2 separate regions of the Homo sapiens genome follow, and region 1 is linked to region 2. The links are contacts of gene promoters, found by promoter capture Hi-C in human tissues and cell types (Jung and others, 2019). All regions are on one chromosome and are shown on one strand. Each heading gives the region's core, a stretch centred on a gene start or on the middle of the fragment in contact. The rest is flanking DNA. Distances are from core to core; before and after follow the strand shown. Region 1 holds the start of OR51L1 (olfactory receptor family 51 subfamily L member 1). Region 2 holds the start of OR51S1 (olfactory receptor family 51 subfamily S member 1).

Region 1 (4,139 bases), core at 94-2,593, 150 kb before region 2:
TTCGGTATACAATTTCTGTGGTTTTAATTCTTGCTCATATTGGTTTATCCCTCACTTAAAAAGAGTCCCCATTTCTACAATATTATTAACTCACTGCTTTATCTCATTGATTTATCCCTCACCTGAAAAGAGTTCCCATTCTACAATATTATGAACTGTGGTCATGCTGTATATTAGATCTCTAGACTTATTCTTCCTACATAACTGCAAGTTTGTATGCTTTGAGCTACTTTTCCGCATTTCCTCCACTACCCGGGCCCCCTAAGCCCCTTTCCCGTTTCTATTTCTGTGTGTACTTTCCCTTTCTTATCCTCTCACTGCCATATCTGTCATGTCTTTCACTTTTTAAAATCCATTTATTGTCTTTTCTCTATTCATTTTCTTTTGACTCTATTTCTGGGTCACTGACAATGATTCTTTGTGGTTCTTTGTTGATTTTAGTACAACTTAATCACACTGAGGTCGAAAGAGAAATAATAGAAAAGAACTGGGAGTAATAACAAGACTGTTTCAAAGGGCAGAGGCATGAATAGGCTTATGTCACACATTCACCTATTCCAGGTAATTAAGGGAGAACTACTGAACATAAGACCATTTTTTTACAGCCTCTCTAGTATCAAAACCTATTCTCTGCTAATCAGCTTATCGCTTATCTTAAAATCGCTGAAAATAATTGGAACAAGACATTACAATACTGTAATAAATTTAATTTTTTTCACAGATGAGAATAATTCTTTTTCCTTTTGCATAAATGGTACATCATCTTTCTCATAATTTTACTCTCTTTAGCAAACTATATCCACATACAAAATGTGCTAAAATCTACCAACTATTTATAATTTAAAAATTCACACTTACCTGAAATTTAAATATAAGGCAATTGAATCAATATGCCTAGTTAATTTGCAATCAGTAGCCCATTTCTCAAATGATCCACAGTTCCATTTTGTCTTTCTCTGACTAAACTTTTCTTCACTATAGTTAAAGTCATATTTTCTTTCTGTTCCTATGTCTGTGGCTTTTTCTCTCTTTATCTCATTTTATGTGTCAAATTATCTTTACTATCTTTTCTAGCCTCCTTCCTGCTGCCATTTTTTTATATTTTGTTTTTATCTAAGTTTGTGTCTTTTCAGCATGTAATCCTCTATTTTTTCCGGTCCCTTTGATTGGCTGTTTCTTTCTTCTAATTTCTCTTTGTGTGTCTGTGGTTTAAGTTGCTGCTCTTACGGGCTTATCTCTCACCTGAGAAAACTTCCCATCTCTACCTGAAAATCAAACCTGTACTGATTAAAGATGCTACAATTTTAAGTCTCTATGAACCTCAGGTTTTGAAAACCTTCGACTCTGTGAGTGGTGAGGCTTGAAGGCTTCCACCATCTCTATAAATACTCCTGGTGTCTCCTGGCAAAGAAAATTAGGGATTGGTGTCAGAGTCTGTTGGATCCCCAGAGATGAAATGGCCATAAAAAGCCCTTAACCACAGGTATGGCAAGAGCATATGATCATAATACTGAAAATAGTAGAAATGCATCCCTGTTTTCATCCACCATTCTTAGTTCTCTAATAGTTTTCTCAAATGAGTGTAAGAAAGTAAATTTATGATAACTACTGTGATCCAGAAGAATACTGAAATTTCGGCTTTAACTAGGGGCATTGTACAGAACAATGATGAGAAAGTGCAATGATAAGTCTTTCCATTATAAGATGTTTACCACATTTCACTAAACAGAGTTATTTATTAGTCATGTGCTTCATAAGCATTTATTAAGCAACAGGGTTCAAGAAGGCACACTAAGCACTTTAAAGGCAAACGCTACTATCCAGTTCATTGCTGCTTCCTCAGTGCTTGGTAAGAAGCATCATCTCCCAACACATTTTTTTTCTTTGCATATTGGCTATCCTACCTCTTTGCATTTATTAATAAATTTTAGAAACAGGTTATCCATTTCTACCAAGATATACATTGAGACTACTATTGAGAATGTATTGAATCTGTAGATCGATTTGGGGAGAATTTACATGTTTAGAATGTAAGATAACTAATCCAAGAACAGGAACTTCAATTAATTAAGGTCTTTATTTTTTCTCAATATTATTTTATACTTGTCTGTTTGGAGATTACATATTTTACACTAGGTTTATTCTCACATATTTGGCATTCAATTGTGCTAACGTAAGTAGCATGATTAATTTTTTCTAAATATTTGGGACTGTTACATAAAAATAAAGTTAATTTTTCTTTTTTCAGAAAAGCTGAACTTATTTTTTATTTTTAATAAGTGATCTGTATTCTCTAAGGCCTTATTTTGCACCAAATCACACCTCCACAAGTAATGTCAGCTTCTTTTTCTCTTATTTAAAATCTTCATTATCGTTTTCTATATTTATTGCTTTGTTGCATTGGATAAGATCTCCAGTGCATTTTGGGGAGAAGGGATAAAAATTGTTTTCTTTTCTTTTTGCAGATATCACAGGTGTGGTTAACAACATTTTACCATTAAGTATGTTTGCTAAGATTTTTTGTACCTGCTTTTATCCGAGAATGTTGTCATCTTCTATTGTTCATGTGATAAGGGATTTTGTCAAAAATAGATGCTGAATTTCATAAAATTATTTTGGGTTTATTGAAATTCATGCTTTTATGATACATATTATTTTTCTTTAATATCATGTTAATGTGATTAATTATATTGATTGATTTTCAAATATCAACTTGTCTTTCTGGAATAAACTCAAGTTTGGAATGCCATTTTCTTTTCTTTATTTATTGCCAGATTTGGTTTGCAAATATTTCGTTTAGAATTTTGACATCGATGTTCATCAGTAAGCACGGCCTGAAATTTTCCTTACTGTAATGTCTTTGTCATGTTTTGTTATGAGATTGAGATTACACAAAGCTCTAAAATACCTGAAGAAATATTCTTTCTCTTCTCCCCGGGAAGATTTTGCATATGCTGGTATGTTGTTTTTTAATTAAATGGCCATCCCAGGGTAGTTTTAATTATAGGCTTTCTAGTTAATCCTTACGGACAATTCAGGTTTTCTCTTTGTCAGTTTTAAAACTAGTTGTGGAGAGATGTAATTAAGGATTACATTATCCAACATTTATAGGACCATTTAGATCTTCTATTTATTCTTTTACCAATTTTTATAAATTGTATTTATCTAGGAATACATAGTTTGGATATACATTTTGATATTTATTGGTTATAAGTTATTCTTAAGTACTTTCATAATTTTTCAAGATCTGCAGTAGTCACACGGTATCTGCTTTTCTCATTACTCATGTTGTTTTGATATGCATTTTCTTTTTTATACTACTAGTGTCACAGTAGATTGACAGTTTCATTGGCTTTTCAAATAGTCAACTTCAGAGGTTAGGTTCTCCAGAAGCAAATACAAAGGGAGAGTTTGAGATGCAAAGGACTTGTTAGGAATTGAGTGTTGATTCAGCTGCCCTGAACTTAACTTTGTTTAAGTTACTTGACTTAACCAAAGTTTCATAGCTAATAACTAGATAAGCCATTAAACCAATTGGTCTCCATAACTGGCATATTCAATACAGCATAGAAAATAACATTCCTTAAACTCTACCTGTGTAGGAAAATGCAAAGGTCTATTCCTAATCTTATGCTTTCTTTTCTTGCAGTCCCGTGGCCATCTCTGCCAGAGTTCTCCACTGTTGTGTACACTTCTTTCTTGTTCTGATCACAGTGGTTGAACATAGCAAATGCTGAGACATATCAAATTATGAGGACAAAATATTACTCTTTAAAACAATCTTTATTGTGACTCAGTAGCGTTTTGAGTGTCGGTTCAGCTAACCTGACTAGGTTGCATTCTTTAGGGCTTCATCCTAGCAGTCCCCAAGGCTGCTCTAGTGCTTTCAGTTCTTTGATCCTCCAATAAACTCCCTGAAAGGACAGGTTGAATAAGTCCTCTGTGCTAACATTAAGGTATGTCAGATGAACATTTTTCTCCTATGGAAACAGAAAAAAAAAACAACAGTAAATTTCAGGTGAAATTTTCCTGCCCAGATCTCCCTTCTCTTCCTTAAGCAGCACAGACCATACAAATGCTGGATCCTTTGGATATCATCGGCACTGAGCTGGAAGGTTCTAGGGTCGTGATACCAGTAA
Region 2 (3,930 bases), core at 13-2,512:
GATATTACATGTGAGGAGAAGCTAATTCTCAGGTTTTTATTTTGGGAAATTGATTAATGGTGGCACCAACAACTGACTTAGGGAACAAACGAGTGTCTTATTGGTTTTGCTATTGACATAAATTCCTCTTCACTGTTTCCTAACTGATGACTCTGAAAGAGGCATTAAGATGTGTCTGTTAAGATCTGCTTTGGATTATTTGAATTTAAATTGCCTGGAACATCCAAGGTAAGATGAACCTAGAAGGATCTGGGAATATATATTAGTAATTCATCTGTTTGTAGACTCGAGTTGATGTCATGAGAGTAGATAAGACCACTTAGGAAAATAAAGAGGGCCAAGGAAAAATATCTCAAAAATATAAACATACACTTAGATAGAAGAAATAAGTTATAATGTTCAGTAGCCAAGTAGGGTGACTATAGTTAACAACAATGTATTGTATATTTCAAAATAGCTAGTAGACAGAACTTGAAATGTTCCAACATATAAAAATTATAATTACTCAAGGCGATGGATGTCCTAAATACCCTGACTTTATCATTTCACATTCTATGCATGTAACAAAATACCACATGCACCCCTTTAAATATGTGCAATTATTACATTTCAATAAAATAAAAATTTTAAATACCCATGTATAAATCATAGGGACACAGCAAAGTTAAGTAAAAGGCTAAATTCTGAAAGGGAGAATTTTTAAAAAAGTAAAAAATAGATCCATAGTAGCCAAAGCTCATTAAGAAATAAATCAAGCTTAGAAAAAATGAGTGCCCCTTAATTTAGAAATAAAGGAGTAATTGGGGACTTAATAAGAACAGTTAAAGTGCACCAAAATGTAAGTATCTTAAGGCAGTCTAGAAGTCAGACTGTCTGGGGTTGGGAAGAGAAAAAAATATGGATAAATGGACTGTTTCCTAAAGTGTTTGTCATAAAGGGAGGGAAAAAATAGGATAACACTACAGGGAGAGGCAAGCTAAAAAAACATGTGAAAACAATCTAGGAAAAGAAACAGAACCACAGAGCTATGAGGACAGCTATAGAAAAACCTCAAAGGCAAGGAATGAATGCTGCATATACTATTAGGATGGGTGCGTGCACAGGGAGGAAATGTGTATATGTGTACGTGTATGTGAGTGCATGAGTCAGGGAAGGGAAGATGCAGGCTATTTTGGAACGTTTCATGCAAATTTGGCACGCGATTAAGTAAACCTTTCTAATCATTTTTCAGGTTCCAGAGTTCAACGTGGAATCCTGAACTATGTCAACATTACCAACTCAGATAGCCCCCAATAGCAGCACTTCAATGGCCCCCACCTTCTTGCTGGTGGGCATGCCAGGCCTATCAGGTGCACCCTCCTGGTGGACATTGCCCCTCATTGCTGTCTACCTTCTCTCTGCACTGGGAAATGGCACCATCCTCTGGATCATTGCCCTGCAGCCCGCCCTGCACCGCCCAATGCACTTCTTCCTCTTCTTGCTTAGTGTGTCTGATATTGGATTGGTCACTGCCCTGATGCCCACACTGCTGGGCATCGCCCTTGCTGGTGCTCACACTGTCCCTGCCTCAGCCTGCCTTCTACAGATGGTTTTTATCCATGTCTTTTCTGTCATGGAGTCCTCTGTCTTGCTCGCCATGTCCATTGATCGGGCACTGGCCATCTGCCGACCTCTCCACTACCCAGCGCTCCTCACCAATGGTGTAATTAGCAAAATCAGCCTGGCCATTTCTTTTCGATGCCTGGGTCTCCATCTGCCCCTGCCATTCCTGCTGGCCTACATGCCCTACTGCCTCCCACAGGTCCTAACCCATTCTTATTGCTTGCATCCAGATGTGGCTCGTTTGGCCTGCCCAGAAGCTTGGGGTGCAGCCTACAGCCTATTTGTGGTTCTTTCAGCCATGGGTTTGGACCCCCTGCTTATTTTCTTCTCCTATGGCCTGATTGGCAAGGTGTTGCAAGGTGTGGAGTCCAGAGAGGATCGCTGGAAGGCTGGTCAAACCTGTGCTGCCCACCTCTCTGCAGTGCTCCTCTTCTATATCCCTATGATCCTCCTGGCACTGATTAACCATCCTGAGCTGCCAATCACTCAGCATACCCATACTCTTCTATCCTATGTCCATTTCCTTCTTCCTCCATTGATAAACCCTATTCTCTATAGTGTCAAGATGAAGGAGATTAGAAAGAGAATACTCAACAGGTTGCAGCCCAGGAAGGTGGGTGGTGCTCAGTGAGTAGGATGTCCCTCCGTGTTTGGTGGTACAGGGCTCCTGATACTAAAGTTTCTGTGAGAACTCAGCTCACCAAGCATGAAATGATCATTCACGTACACATAAGTGCATATATGTGCATGTAGCTTCCTGTCCCTGGAAGTATGCCTGTGTATATTGATGCAAACTTACAAGCCCCAAAGAATGAACATGATCCACCCACTGGTACATTACATATCAATGACATAGGAAGGGCCAGAGTCCAGATCTTGTCACAACTATCCAAGTGTGTGCCTGTTGTTATCTTATTGTTGTTAGTCCTGTCACTATATCTATACCTTAATACTGGATAAAGCTAGAAGAGTTAATCATCTACATAGCAAAGGAAAAATAAGACAGAAGCATTCTTCTCAACTAGATAGAAGATCTTCCATTTGTATTGTACCTCCTTAAGAAGTAAGAATTCTGACCAATCCTTAGGAATTAGATACATGAGGAAAATGCAAGTAAGTCTCTCATTTAGATTCTTCACACCAAGAGATAGGTTATTTAACTCTGATCAGGCCAGGAAAAAAAGAGGGAATATAATTTTTTTAATTCTTCATTTAGTTTTCAAAATGTTAGTATATTTTTGAATACATATGTATATTGAATGTCCTCAACACAAAGAAATGAGAAATGTTTGAGATTATAAATATGCTAATCACCCTGATCTGATCACTATACATGGTATGCACCAAAACATCACTATGACTATGCATAATTATTGTCAGTTTAAAATAAAATTTAATTTAATTTTTTAAATTTTTGCATATTTCAGAAAAAATAGAACAAATAAGAATAATCTTAAATTACATCCCCCAAACTTAACTATAATTATCTGTTTAGTGAACACTTATAATGTTTTATGTAAATGGAATCTTACAAGTGGCATTTGGAATTATCGGTCTCAATTCTTTACTTCCTAGTAGCAGCAGTATACATTCACATCCACATCAGGAGGGACAAAGTGGACGGATTGTATTTACATTCACTCTCACTTTAGACACATAATTTTCTCTGGCCATTGTGGTCCTCATGACTTGTTTTGGTCAATAGGATGTTAGTGGATGTGATAAAAGCAAGAGCTTCAGTGTGATTTTGCTGCAGGGTTTGATTTCTTGTACTGGGGTAGTGCTAACCTAGTAGGTAATTCCCCTTGAATCTGGTTTCCAGAAGGAGGTACATGGTGCAAACCTGAGCCAAATTCAGAGCCTGGAGCCAGTCCCTGGTTCCCAGAGAACTGAAGCAAAGCCAGCAAGTCAAAGCAGCCTAGATGAAGAGGGTCTCTGACAACCTACTGACCAGTGAGAATTATAACAAATGCTGTAGTTGTAAGCATCTGATATTTTGTAGTTGGTATACAGCAAAAGTTAACTAACAGAGTAATTACAGTCTTATTCTGTGAACATGGTTAATCTATTTTTTTGATGCCAATACAATTAATCACATGTGTGTTATGAGGAGCACTATTGTTGTAGCACAATAATTGACTAACTTTAATAAATATATATTTTTTATTTTTGTGGGTACACAGTAGGTTTATATATTTATGGGGTACATGAGATGTTTTGATACAGGCATGCAATGTGAAATAATCACATCATGAAGAATGGGGTATCTATCCCCTCAAGCAGTTATCCTCTGTGTTATAAACAATCCAATTACATTCCTTTAGATAT

Evidence for each region. Contacts are between HindIII fragments. The study calls those that stand out against the background at their distance.
Region 1: a contact is called between the fragment with the promoter of OR51L1 here and the fragment with the promoter of OR51S1 in region 2, in 1 of the 25 tissues and cell types used here (aorta).

Annotation. Positions count from the first base shown.
Region 1 is chr11:4,992,055-4,996,193 of GRCh38, reverse strand. OR51L1 (olfactory receptor family 51 subfamily L member 1) reads right to left here and starts at 1,343. Exons shown (of 3, transcript NM_001004755.2): 1 at 859-1,343. It overlaps MMP26 (matrix metallopeptidase 26), which reads right to left. Exons shown (of 8, transcript NM_021801.5): 7 at 4,069-4,139; 8 at 3,765-3,980. The coding sequence ends at 3,952. The HindIII fragment of the contact is 11,490 bases long and covers 1-2,085 here.
Region 2 is chr11:4,846,540-4,850,469 of GRCh38, reverse strand. OR51S1 (olfactory receptor family 51 subfamily S member 1) reads left to right here and starts at 1,262. Exons shown (of 1, transcript NM_001004758.1): 1 at 1,262-2,233. The coding sequence starts at 1,262. The coding sequence ends at 2,233. All of the region lies in intron 2 of MMP26 (matrix metallopeptidase 26), which reads right to left. The HindIII fragment of the contact is 3,311 bases long and covers 47-3,357 here.